Linked DNA regions of Homo sapiens: all the other regions are linked to region 3. Evidence: promoter capture Hi-C in human tissues and cell types (Jung and others, 2019). All regions are on one chromosome and are shown on one strand. Each heading gives the region's core, a stretch centred on a gene start or on the middle of the fragment in contact. The rest is flanking DNA. Distances are from core to core; before and after follow the strand shown. Region 1 overlaps LOC101927711 (a long non-coding RNA gene). Region 2 overlaps LOC107983960 (a long non-coding RNA gene). Region 3 holds the start of MAP10 (microtubule associated protein 10).

Region 1 (3,861 bases), core at 408-2,907, 57 kb after region 3:
TCTTACTCCCAGTGAGTTTTTAGTAATTTCTAAAATATTTCTGGAAAGTGGGAAATGGCCAAGTCCTGGAACCGGACCCACCTGAGCACCCAGATGAGAGGGACCAGCTGAAAGTGCTGTGAAGTGGTGGTATGATGGGAAAGCAAAGTGTCCAGTCAATACAGCCATCCATGCTCAGTGCGAGCAAAGGGTTCAAAATGGCGACAGAAAGACATAATAATGTCTTCCAATAAGAAGTTCTTACAAAGGGAGGGTGCTCTGGAGTGTGCAGTACACAGTCTTTTTGAATGATAGTCAGTGTAGCAGACATCTGTCTATAGGCTGCAGGGCTCTTGTCCCAGAAAGGGGACAGAGATGATATAAGTAGAAACCCAGAATCAGCAGTGTGCTGGGATCCTAGACCAGAACCTAGAAGTAATGCCCAGGAGGGAAGCTTGATTAGAGAAACGGAGTTACCACATCAGGTCAAAGTAGCAGCAACAGCAACAACAAACGTTATGTGTATGCATGGGTGTGTCATGCATGTATGAGTGTGTCTGTGTGTATATATATGTGTGTGTGTATATGTGCATATCCTTTGAATATCACCTTTGGAACTGGCCTAATGCCTCCTGCCTCAGACCAAAATTGATTCCAGGGACAAAGCACATTGCTGAGCCTGCAGTGAGAATTACCTGGTTCCAGCCATGGGGGAGAGAACATTCGCAAAGGCAGGATGGAGACCTGCGGCCTAAGCTGGCTGGCAGAATCTCTATAGGGTTTGTGGGCATCTTCACAAACAGGCTGGATAAACTGTCATGATTCTTATTTGGCAGTTTATACAGTGGCAAATTGATTTTTTGTTTCTCATGGCTATCCACTGAAAATGCCCAGGGATGCTCAAGGATAACAGAAGAATGTGTGAAATCACTGACTCCTAAGCCTTGTTCTAATGATGATTGGTGACTGCTGGGCAGAGCTGTTGTCGTGCAGAATGGCACAAGGTTGATTTTGCTTAAACAAGCCAGGGAATATACCTAGATGGCCAATCAAGGAATTTTCTATGTGAGAATGTTATTCTAAAAGCCTAATCTCTGTTTGATTTATAATTGTTAAAGATTTCCAGTAGCACAAGAATCCTGTTCTCTCTACATTGAATGCAGGTTCTTCTCATTGGCCATACCTGTAGAAGTGTCAGAGGTTCAACTCAGAAATAGTGAAAACTGGATTTTAACAACACTGTATGGTCTTTTAAACTTTCGTTTGCAAATATTTAAGCAACAATTTCCTTCTTGGTGCTCCGTGAAGCTGGAATAGAACTGAGAGTTCGTGCTTTGTTCAGTTGTGTATAAAATGTAGTAAGGTCACAGTCATTTAGGAAGCAACCCTGGGGCCTCTAAAAACTACTAGGCCGCGCGTAGTGGCTCACACCAGTAATTTCAGCACTCTGGGAGGCTGAGGTGGGCAGGTTGCATGAGTCCAGGAGTTTGAGACCGCCCTGGGCAACATAGATAAACCCCGACTCTACTAAAAATACAAAAAATTAACCAAGTGTGGTAGTGTACGCCTGTAATCACAGCTACTCGAGGAGTTGGGGTGGGATAATCACCTGAGCCCAGGCGGTCGAGGCTACAGTGAGCCGAGATTGTGCCATTGCACTCCAGCCTGGGCAACCAGAGTGAGAACATGTCTAAAAAAGAAAACTCTGGGTGTGGTGGCTCATGCCTGTAATCCTAGCACTTTGGGAGGCCGAGGCAGGAGGATTGCCTGAGCTCAGGGGTTCGAGACTAGCCTGGGAAACACGTTGAAACCCCGTCTCTACTAAAATACAAAAATTTAGCCAGGCGTGGCAGTGTGTGCCTGTAGTCCTAGCTTACTCGGGAGGCTGAGGCAGGAGAATTGCTTTAAGCCAGGAGACAGAGGTTGCACAGTGAGCTGAGATCGTGCCACTGCACTCCAGCCTGGGCAACAGAGCAAGACTGTCTCCAAAAAAAAAAAAAAATTAAAAATTACCCAGGCTTAGTGATGCATGCCTGTAGTCCCAGCTACTCAGGAGGCTGAGGTGGGAGGATTGGTCAAGCTCGAGGCTGCAGTGCGCTGTGATTGCGCCACTGCACTCAGCCTGGGTGACAGAGTGAAACCCTGTCTCAAAGACAAAAAAAAACGAAACCAACCAACAAACTCCACCACCACCAACACAACTCTACTATTTGTGAAGGCTTTTAAGCTGTGTTTGCATCACCCTCCCAAACAGCTCATTTCAATATAAATGATCACTTGGAAGGATCAGTCAAGTTAATTTAACGGCTTGATTTAAATGTACAACAATCAATGAACTGATTTGAAGTTGTATGCTCAGTGAAATGTCTTGAATAGGGCTTTGACTTCCATCAAAGTTTGGCTTTGTAATGCAATAGAATGGTATTGATTATGTTAGATCTTATTAGCAACTTTTGATATCTTTGACCTCCAGTTAGATAGTTAAACATTAGAAATCTGCCTGAATTAAGTACTAAACATGGATAAATTTTGTTCTAAAGTAGTTTCTATCTTTAAGAAGGTACAGAATGGCATAGTTCTGTTCTTCTTATAATTAATAAGAATTAAATGATCGACTGGTTTCTGAAGTTGGATGCTGGATCTATCACAACCTCCTTGAGTATAAGCTAGCAGAATGGCTAGGTAGCAAAGGACCGTAAAAGGGATGCTTGTCATCCGGGCAAAGGTGGCCTTAGAATTAAGAAAGTCTTTGAGTTCCCTTATCTTTTCTCTCACCTTTCTAGTATATACCCAAAGACAAATGTACAGATTATTTTTACTGTTTTTATAATTGAAATACAAAAAAAGAGAAAATTCTGGCAACTTCAGAAACCACCTTGTTAGTTTATTGTGGGTATCCATCATTGTATAAACCAATTTAATAGGGTGCTATGGTTGCCAAAGAGTCTGATCTCCAGATTTTCTCAGCACTTCCCATCTGCTCACACAATAGCCAGAAGACGTTTGCTTTCCTGGAGATAGCATAATGCTTTAAAACTGCCTGAAGAAATCTACCCACCCAAGCTGTTTTAATAAGGTTAAGTGTGTAAAATATTCATCCCACAGGATATATGCCCATATGCCGTCTTATCATTAGTCATAAAAAACAAACACTTAATTATTCCGATCTCTAAGGTCCATCTTTGTGGTTAGGCTCCGAGGGACTCCATGAACCAGGGGGTCTTATTTATCAGTGACAGTGTCTCTATCCAGACTTACTCCATGTTGTCATGGTATTTTATTTGTCTAGCCATCTTGTAAATGCTTATTCCTTGCTGTCAACCATCTCAACATGCTTGGAGGCAGATGGGCCCCTGGCACTCTCCATGGTATTCTTCACATCTCCTCTTGGGCTGTCATATGCTCTCAAACACGCATAGGGAACGCTGAAATTTTGCTCTTTCTTCTAGAGAGTCTAGAGAGCCAGGAAGGAAGTTGTTGCTTACAGACCTGCAATAAGAAGACCATAAACTGTGTCGGGCGCGGTGGCTCACGCCTGTAATCCCAACACTTTGGGAGGCCAAGGCAGGCAGATCACAAGGTCAGGAGTTCAAGACCAGCCTGGCCAACATGAGGAAACCCCATTTCTACTAAAAATACACAAATTAGCTGGGCATGGTGGCCGGTGCCTATAATCCCTGCTACTCGGGAAGCAGAGGCAGGAGAATCGTTTGAACCCGGGAGGCAGAGATTGTAGTGAGCTGAGGTCACGCCATCGTACTCCAGCCTGGGCGACAGGCTGAGACTCTGTCTCAAAAAAAAAAAAAAAAAAAGAAGACCATAAACTGTTGCTTGGAATCCTACTTCCTCGGGCCTCTGAAAGACCCTCCGGTGATATTTCCC
Region 2 (3,697 bases), core at 420-2,919, 52 kb before region 3:
TAAGAGAAAGAGACAGAACATTGACCCTAGAGAAAACAGAAAATCCACAATAGAGAAATGAACTGCCAAACTTTCTATTTAATATCCTCCAGAGGATTCAAGATGACATTGCCCCCTAAAACAAGAATAGACTTCTATGGAAAAGAAACAGAGGACAAACAATAGTTCTTAGGATTATGGAATTACAAAAATAGAGCACTTACTGGAAGGAATAAATAGAAGAACAGGCACAATAAAGGACAAATTAGTGACCTAAAACAAAGGTCAGAATTTTTTTTTTTTCTGTGAAAGGCCAGATTTTAAATATTTTTGGTTTTCCAGACTATGTTGTCTCTGTCACAACTACTCAATCTGCCAGGGTAGTAGGCAAGTAGTCCCTGACAATATACAAAGAAGAAAGGGTTTATTTACAAAATACTATACAAACAAGAAAGAGTTTATTTACAAAATTCACCTTTACTTACAAAAATAGGTGGTGGACTGGATTCGGCCCATGGACTACAGTTTAGTGTAGTTTAGTGACCTGTGACCTAAAAGATAAAGTTAAGGAAATATTCCAAAACATACAGCAAAAAGATAAAAAGATGGGGAAAGAGTTCAAAGACAGGAAAGCTCATTTCAAGAGTTCCAACATATCTAATATGGTTTCAGAAATAGAAAAAAATTAAATGGAGAAAATTATAAAGAAAAATAAAAATTTATCATAGCTGAAGAGAAACATAGATTTTTTTTTTTACATAAAAAGAGCCACCCACATATATTATAAGAGAAATAATAATCCCTAAGCAATATAAATTGATAAGATGCATCTAGAATGTATCTTTTTTTTTTTTTTTGAGACATTCTCACTTTGTCATCCAGGCTGGAGTGCAGTGGTGCCATCATGGCTCACAGCATTCTCCCACCTCATCCTCCTGAATAGCTGGGAACACAGGTGCATGCCACCATGCATGGCTAATTTTTGTATTTTTTGTAGAGACAGTCTCACTATGTTATCCATGCTGGTCTCATACTTCTAGGCTCCCACAGTCTTCCCATCATGGCCTCCCAAACTAATGGAATTACAGGCATGAGCCACTGCACCCAGGCTAGAATGTATCTTTATGAAGTCTTAGAGCTATAGAGAATACAGATATTTCGAAAAACTCCTAGAGGAAAAATAGATTACCTATGTAGAAATTAGAATTATGTTGTCATCGAAATTCTTATTGGCAAAACTGTATGTTGAAAAAAAATCTGGGCCGGGCGCAGTGGCTCACACCTGTAATCCCAGCACTTTGGGAGGCTGAGGTGGGTGGATCACAAGGTCAAGAGATCGAGACCAGCCTGGCCAACATGGTGAAACGCTGTCTCTACTAAAAATACAAAAATTACCTAGGCATGGTGGCAGGGACCTATAGTCCCATCTACTTGGGAGGCTGAGGCAGGAGAATTGCTTGAACCCAGGATCAGAGGTTGCAGTGAGCCGAGATCGTGCCACTGTACTCCAGCCTGATGACACAGCGAGATTCCACCTCAAAAAAAAAAAACAAAAAAAAAAAACAGTCAGGCATGGTGGCTTATGACTGTAATTCCGGCACTTTTGAGGCCAAGGTGGTAGGATCTCTTGAGCTCAGTAGTTGAGGCTGCAGTGAGCTGTGATTGCACCACTGCACTCCAGCCTGGGCAACAGATTTGGACCCTATCTCAAAATAAAAACATTCTGAGATGTTCTGAGGAAAAATTATTTTTAAACCAATTGTTTCATATCCAACCAAAAAGCATTCAAATGGTAGGGCAATGATATAAAAGTATTTGTAAACATTCAAGAACTCAGAAACAGACCTTCTCTAGAGTTAAGATTTGTTCAAAGATTATTTACTACAAAAAGACAATTTGATCTAAGAAAAAAATTACATAAAATATAGTTTAAATAATGGTGTGTAAAGTATCCAGGATAATTTATAGGTAAGTTCAATAAAATACATGGTGATGCCATCAAACCTTCAACTTTTTCTTAAGTTCAGGTTGCAATTTGCCTCTCTACCCCACCCTCCCAACAGTTTTATGTCGTGTGTAGACATCGCGCCATTAAATCCAGTAATAACTCACTGTCAGATATATTACATACATGCTAGCACTTAGATCAGCATCTCTCTGTCCTGGATCCCCCAGGTGATATGGAGGTGATCCTGGCCTGAATAAGGTTTGATGCCTGAGGTGGGCTGAGAATGACTTCAAAGGTATGTTCACATCTTAATTCTGGAAGCCTGTAAATGTGACCTCATTTGGAAATAGGGTCTGTGCAGATATGCCTAAGTTAAAGATCTTTAGGTAAGACAGTCTTCACAAGCATCTTTATAAGGGAGAGACAGACGCAAACAGAGGAGAAGGTGATGTGAAGTTGGAGGCAGAGACGGAAGTGCTAAGGAAGGCTGAGGACGTGCAGCAATGTTGGCAACACCAGAAGCTGGATATGGTGAACAGAGAACTCCCTTAGACCCTCTGGAGGGAGCCTGGCCCTGCTGGCACATTAATCTCAGACCTGGCTTCCAGCACTCTGAGAGGGAAATTTTTGTTAATTTACCAAATGTGTAGTAATTTGTCATCACAGCCACAGGAAACGAATACAATACCCTTTAACTGACACCACACATAAATACACACTCTCTACAGAACTGTGTTACTCCCCATCTCCGGCTTTGTTATGCCTGTACTTGGCTATGTTACTGCCCATATCTGGCTATGTTACTCCCCCCATCTCTGGCTATGTTACTTCTCATATCTGGCTATGTTATTCCAACCATCTCTGGCTATGTTACTGCCCCATATCTAGCTATGTTACTCCCCATATCTGGATATGTTAACTCCCCCATATGTGGCTATGTCACTCCCCATATCTGGCTGTGTTACTCCTCCCATATTTGGCTAAGTTACTTGCCACCAATGGCTATGTTACTCCCCTGATATCTGGCTATGTTACTTCCCCATATGTGGTTATGTTACTCTCTCCATATCTGGCTATGTTACTCCCCATCTCTGACTATGTTACTACCTCTATATTTGGCTGTTACTCCCGTCATATCTGAGTATGTTACTCATCATCTCTGGCTGTTACTCTCACATATGTGTCAGGGTTTCCCCATATCTGGTTATGTTACTTCCCACATATCTGGCTAAGTTACTATTCCATATGTGGCCATGTTACTCTCCCCATCTATGGCTATATTACTCCCCTCATATATGGCTATGTTACTTCCATCATAGATGGCTATGTTACTCCCTAATATGAGGCTATGTCACTCTCCCCATATCTGGCAAGTTACTCTCCATCTCTGGTTATGTTACTCCCCCATATGTGGCTATGTTAGTCTCATCATATCCAGCTATGTTACTCCCCATATGTGGCTATGCTACTCTCCCCATAACTCGCTATGTTACTCCCCTTCTATCTAGCTATGTTAGTCTCACCATATCCGGCTATGTTACTCCCCATATGTGGCTATGTTACTCTCCCCATAACTGGCTATGTTACTCCCCTCCTATCTGGCTATGTTACTTCCCTAATATGTGGCTATGTTGCTCCCCAGGTAAGGCTATAACACTCTCCACATATCTGGCTAAGTTACTCAGCGTCTCTGGCTATGTTACTCCCCCATATGTGGCTGTGTTACTCTCCCCAACTTTGGCTATGTTACTCCCCTCATATGTGGCTATG
Region 3 (3,503 bases), core at 703-3,202:
TCTCCTGCCTCAGCCTCCCAAGTACCTGGGATTACAGGCATGCACCACCACACCCAGCTGATTTTTGTATTTTTAGTAGAGACGGGGTTTCATCATGTTGGCCAGGATGGCCTCGATCTCTTGACCTCGTGTTCTGCCTGCCTCGGCCTCCCAAAGTGCTGGGATTACAGGCGTGAGCCACCGCATCTGGTCCGAGAAGTATCTTGTATTTATATATTGCAATGAGACTTCTCTCTCACGTCTTCACACTAAAGCATCATATCCCTCCAGTTCTGAATTTCTCTTGAGCTTCACAATGTTCTTCTGAGCACTGAAGCAATATAATTTAACTATAATTTATAAAGCTGAATAAAGCGGTACATATATAATGCCCAGCAGCAGGTACCTCAAGCTTTACATATCTCAAAACTCAAAGTATTTTTTTCCGTCAAATCTGTGCCTCCTCAATATTTTCACCTTCAGTAGCAGAAGTTTTTCACCCATGACTTTTCTTTCCCATTCACCAAATTTTAAAATTCCTCCATCACAAATGCCTCTTCTGCCACCTCTTTTTAATTTCCACTAGTCCTGACCATGTGCAGGTCATAATTATCTGCCTCTTAGACCACTGCAGTAGTCTTCTAATAGATTGCTCTGAATCCAATTTCTAATTAGTAGAATCCATCCTTTGTATTCCTCCCCATGATACATTTCCAAATATTGCTATGATGTACTTATTCAATCAAAAAAATTTGGACAGAATATAGTCCAAATTCTTTACCATGGCATTCAAGGCTCTCCAAAAACTGGCCTTGGATTCCTAGCTGGCTAGCTCATTGAGGTTAGGAGTATGTTTCTTAAAATATCTGGATAGAGCAGCAAGTTCTGTGTGTCTCTGTAGATGTGTGTATATTTATGTACACACATTTGTTTTATTGATGGAATCATTAACATTACTCTCATGCATCATGATTGCTTAGCTGGAAATGTTGTCAAATAAAAAACAGGGCCAGACAGTAGTTGAAGTGGCAAAAACACTGTAGTCAGGAACTACTGCAATAAGAGAAAAGAGACCTCAATACAGAGCTGGGCTCAATTCCAATTACAGCATGGACAAGTGGGGATTTAAAGCCAAGGGGGCGTCAGGTCAAGTGGATGGAAACTTACTGATAGGGAACATCACGGGTGGGAGGGTTCTGATTAAGCAGGCCTAATAGGATTCTTGCTGAAGCCAGGCCAGGGTGGTCAGATACCAATGATAGAAAATGAAGAATTTGATCAGGTATCGACGGTAATCAGGTATGAAGGGTTGGGGGTTCTCTCTCAACAGCCGTAGCGAGACCTTTGCTACAACTCGGTGATCCAGGGTCCACAGGATTGGAAGCCAAGGTCAAGGCCTAGTCGGAAAGAAGGCTTAGATGAGCCTGACCAAAGTTCAGCCAAGGAGAGTTTTTGCCAGTGTATTCACACTCCGTGTGTGTGTGGTGTGTCTGTCTCAGTACTACTGTAATTGATGAGGCAGGGGCTCCCTGGCCATCCCAGCAGTGTCACCATCTTTTGGGTAGAACAGCAGACACAGAGATGGCCCACTGTGGACAGTTAACTAACTGGCTCTGTTTAGCATGGGAAAGGAAGGAGAGTCCTGATTTTCTTTCAATATTCCTCAGGTATATTGATCTGACCCCCAAGTTACATAAGATCTGCAGTGATAAAACCATTACCCAAAAAACTCACTGTCTTTTACCACTTATATCCTCAGCATTATCATCAATTGTCTTAATACAAGGTTGGTGGCAAAAAACGGCTCACAAGTATGCATACAAAGGGGCCAAACACATTGAGCAGCAAAACCCCCAAAGCAGACACCGCCCGAGACCCGCTGGAGCGCTTCCGCAAATCTCGCGAGATAGCAGGCAGCGATGCCTTTTGCTCCGGTTTCTCGTGAGACCCCGGGGCTTCAGCTTCTCGTTTGCGGAGCCCGCGGCGGCGTTTCCTGGGGCAACAGCAATGGCGGCCTCGCTGTCCGAGCGGCTCTTCTCGCTGGAGCTGCTGGTGGACTGGGTGCGTTTGGAAGCCCGGCTGCTGCCGTCCCCCGCTGCCGCAGTGGAGCAGGAGGAGGAAGAGGAGGAAAAGGAGCAGGGGGAGGCCTCGTCGCCGCGCGGTCTGTGCCCCGCCGTGGCCTTCCGCCTGCTGGACTTCCCCACGCTGTTGGTTTACCCTCCTGACGGCCCCGGCGCTCCCGCCGCCGAACCGTGGCCCGGTGTCATCCGCTTCGGTCGCGGCAAGTCCTGCCTCTTCCGCCTGCAGCCTGCTACCCTGCACTGCCGGCTCCTGCGGACCCCGCTTGCCACCTTGCTGCTGCAGCTGCCCCCTGGGCGCCCGACGCCCACCCCACAGCTCCTGGGGGCCTGCGACATTTCGCTGGCCACCGCAGCGCACAGGGTCGTGGGGCCGGCCGCCTCCGGATGCTCCCACCGTCACCGGGGACGTTTCCCCCTGCATAATCGAGTGGGCGAGCGGACTGGGGACATTGCACTGGCCTACCGCCTGACTGACCTGGGAAGCCGCCTGCTGAGCCAACTTGAGCGGCCCCTCACCTTCACCCGCACAGGAGGAGGAGCGGAGGTCAGTCCCCAAACCCAGCAGGAAAGACAGCAGCTGCAGCAGCCAGCCTCACAGCCAAGCCCAAAAGAGGCTGATAAGCCGCTGGGGGAGTTAGAAATCCCAGAGGCACAGAAGGATTTGAAGGAAATGGTTAAAAGTAAGGCCGAATGTGATAATGTGGGTTCTGTGGAGAATGGCAAAACCAATTCTGTTGTTACATGTTCAGGTGCTGGCAATGGGAGAAATGTTAGCTCCCTAAATGAGGAAGTCACAGAATTGGACATGGAGACCAATATATTTTGCCCTCCTCCTTTGTATTACACTAACTTGACCCAAGAAAAACCGCCCCCTGCACAGGCTAAAATCACCATTGAGCCTCAAATGAATGCACCTGAGGAAATGGATGATGCTTCTCCTGAAAAAAAGCGTGTAAATCCCCCAGCACACAGGAGTTGTCTAAAGCATCCAAGTTCTGCAGCACACGAACATCCTCCAATGCTTGTAAATCCTCCACATATTCAGAATATAGGAGCAACTAATCAAACATGTCAAACTGAACAAAATCGAATTAATACAATAAGGCAGTTGCCTTTGTTAAATGCTTTGTTAGTTGAGTTGTCCTTGTTATATGACCAACCTGTGACAAGTCCTGCTCATATACATCCTCACCTAGCCTGGTTATATAGGACTGAGGATAAGAAGTCACCCGAATCTTCTGCCAAATCCACATGCCGGTCTGAAGCCAAGAAGGATAAGCGTTCTGTGGGGGGATGTGAAAAGTCAGTGAGTCTTCAGTATAAAAAGAACCAAATTGAAAACTATAAGGAAGATAAATATTCTGAAAAGAGCAGTGGTGCCCTCCATAAAAGAGTTCCAAAAGGGAGGCTACTTTATGGCTTAACAAATACACTAAGACTACG

The links. The method cuts DNA at HindIII sites, captures the fragments that hold promoters and counts their contacts. A contact is called where the count stands out against the background at its distance.
Region 1: a fragment that was not itself captured here is called in contact with the fragment with the promoter of MAP10 in region 3 in 1 of the 25 tissues and cell types used here (mesenchymal stem cells).
Region 2: a fragment that was not itself captured here is called in contact with the fragment with the promoter of MAP10 in region 3 in 1 of the 25 tissues and cell types used here (neural progenitor cells).

Annotation. Positions count from the first base shown.
Region 1 is chr1:232,860,744-232,864,604 of GRCh38, forward strand. The region is part of intron 4 of LOC101927711 (a long non-coding RNA gene); the gene reads left to right. Among named protein-coding and RNA genes, the nearest start is that of MAP10, 57 kb to the left of the region's middle. The HindIII fragment of the contact is 7,376 bases long and covers 1-3,861 here.
Region 2 is chr1:232,752,084-232,755,780 of GRCh38, forward strand. LOC107983960 (a long non-coding RNA gene) reads left to right here. Exons shown (of 5, transcript XR_949277.1): 4 at 2,155-2,222. Among named protein-coding and RNA genes, the nearest start is that of LINC01744, 11 kb to the left of the region's middle. The HindIII fragment of the contact is 6,788 bases long and covers 1-3,697 here.
Region 3 is chr1:232,803,464-232,806,966 of GRCh38, forward strand. MAP10 (microtubule associated protein 10) reads left to right here and starts at 1,953. Exons shown (of 1, transcript NM_019090.3): 1 at 1,953-3,503. The coding sequence starts at 1,987. RefSeq lists enhancers at 1,748-2,345, 2,057-2,136, 2,346-2,942. The HindIII fragment of the contact is 7,984 bases long and covers 1-3,503 here.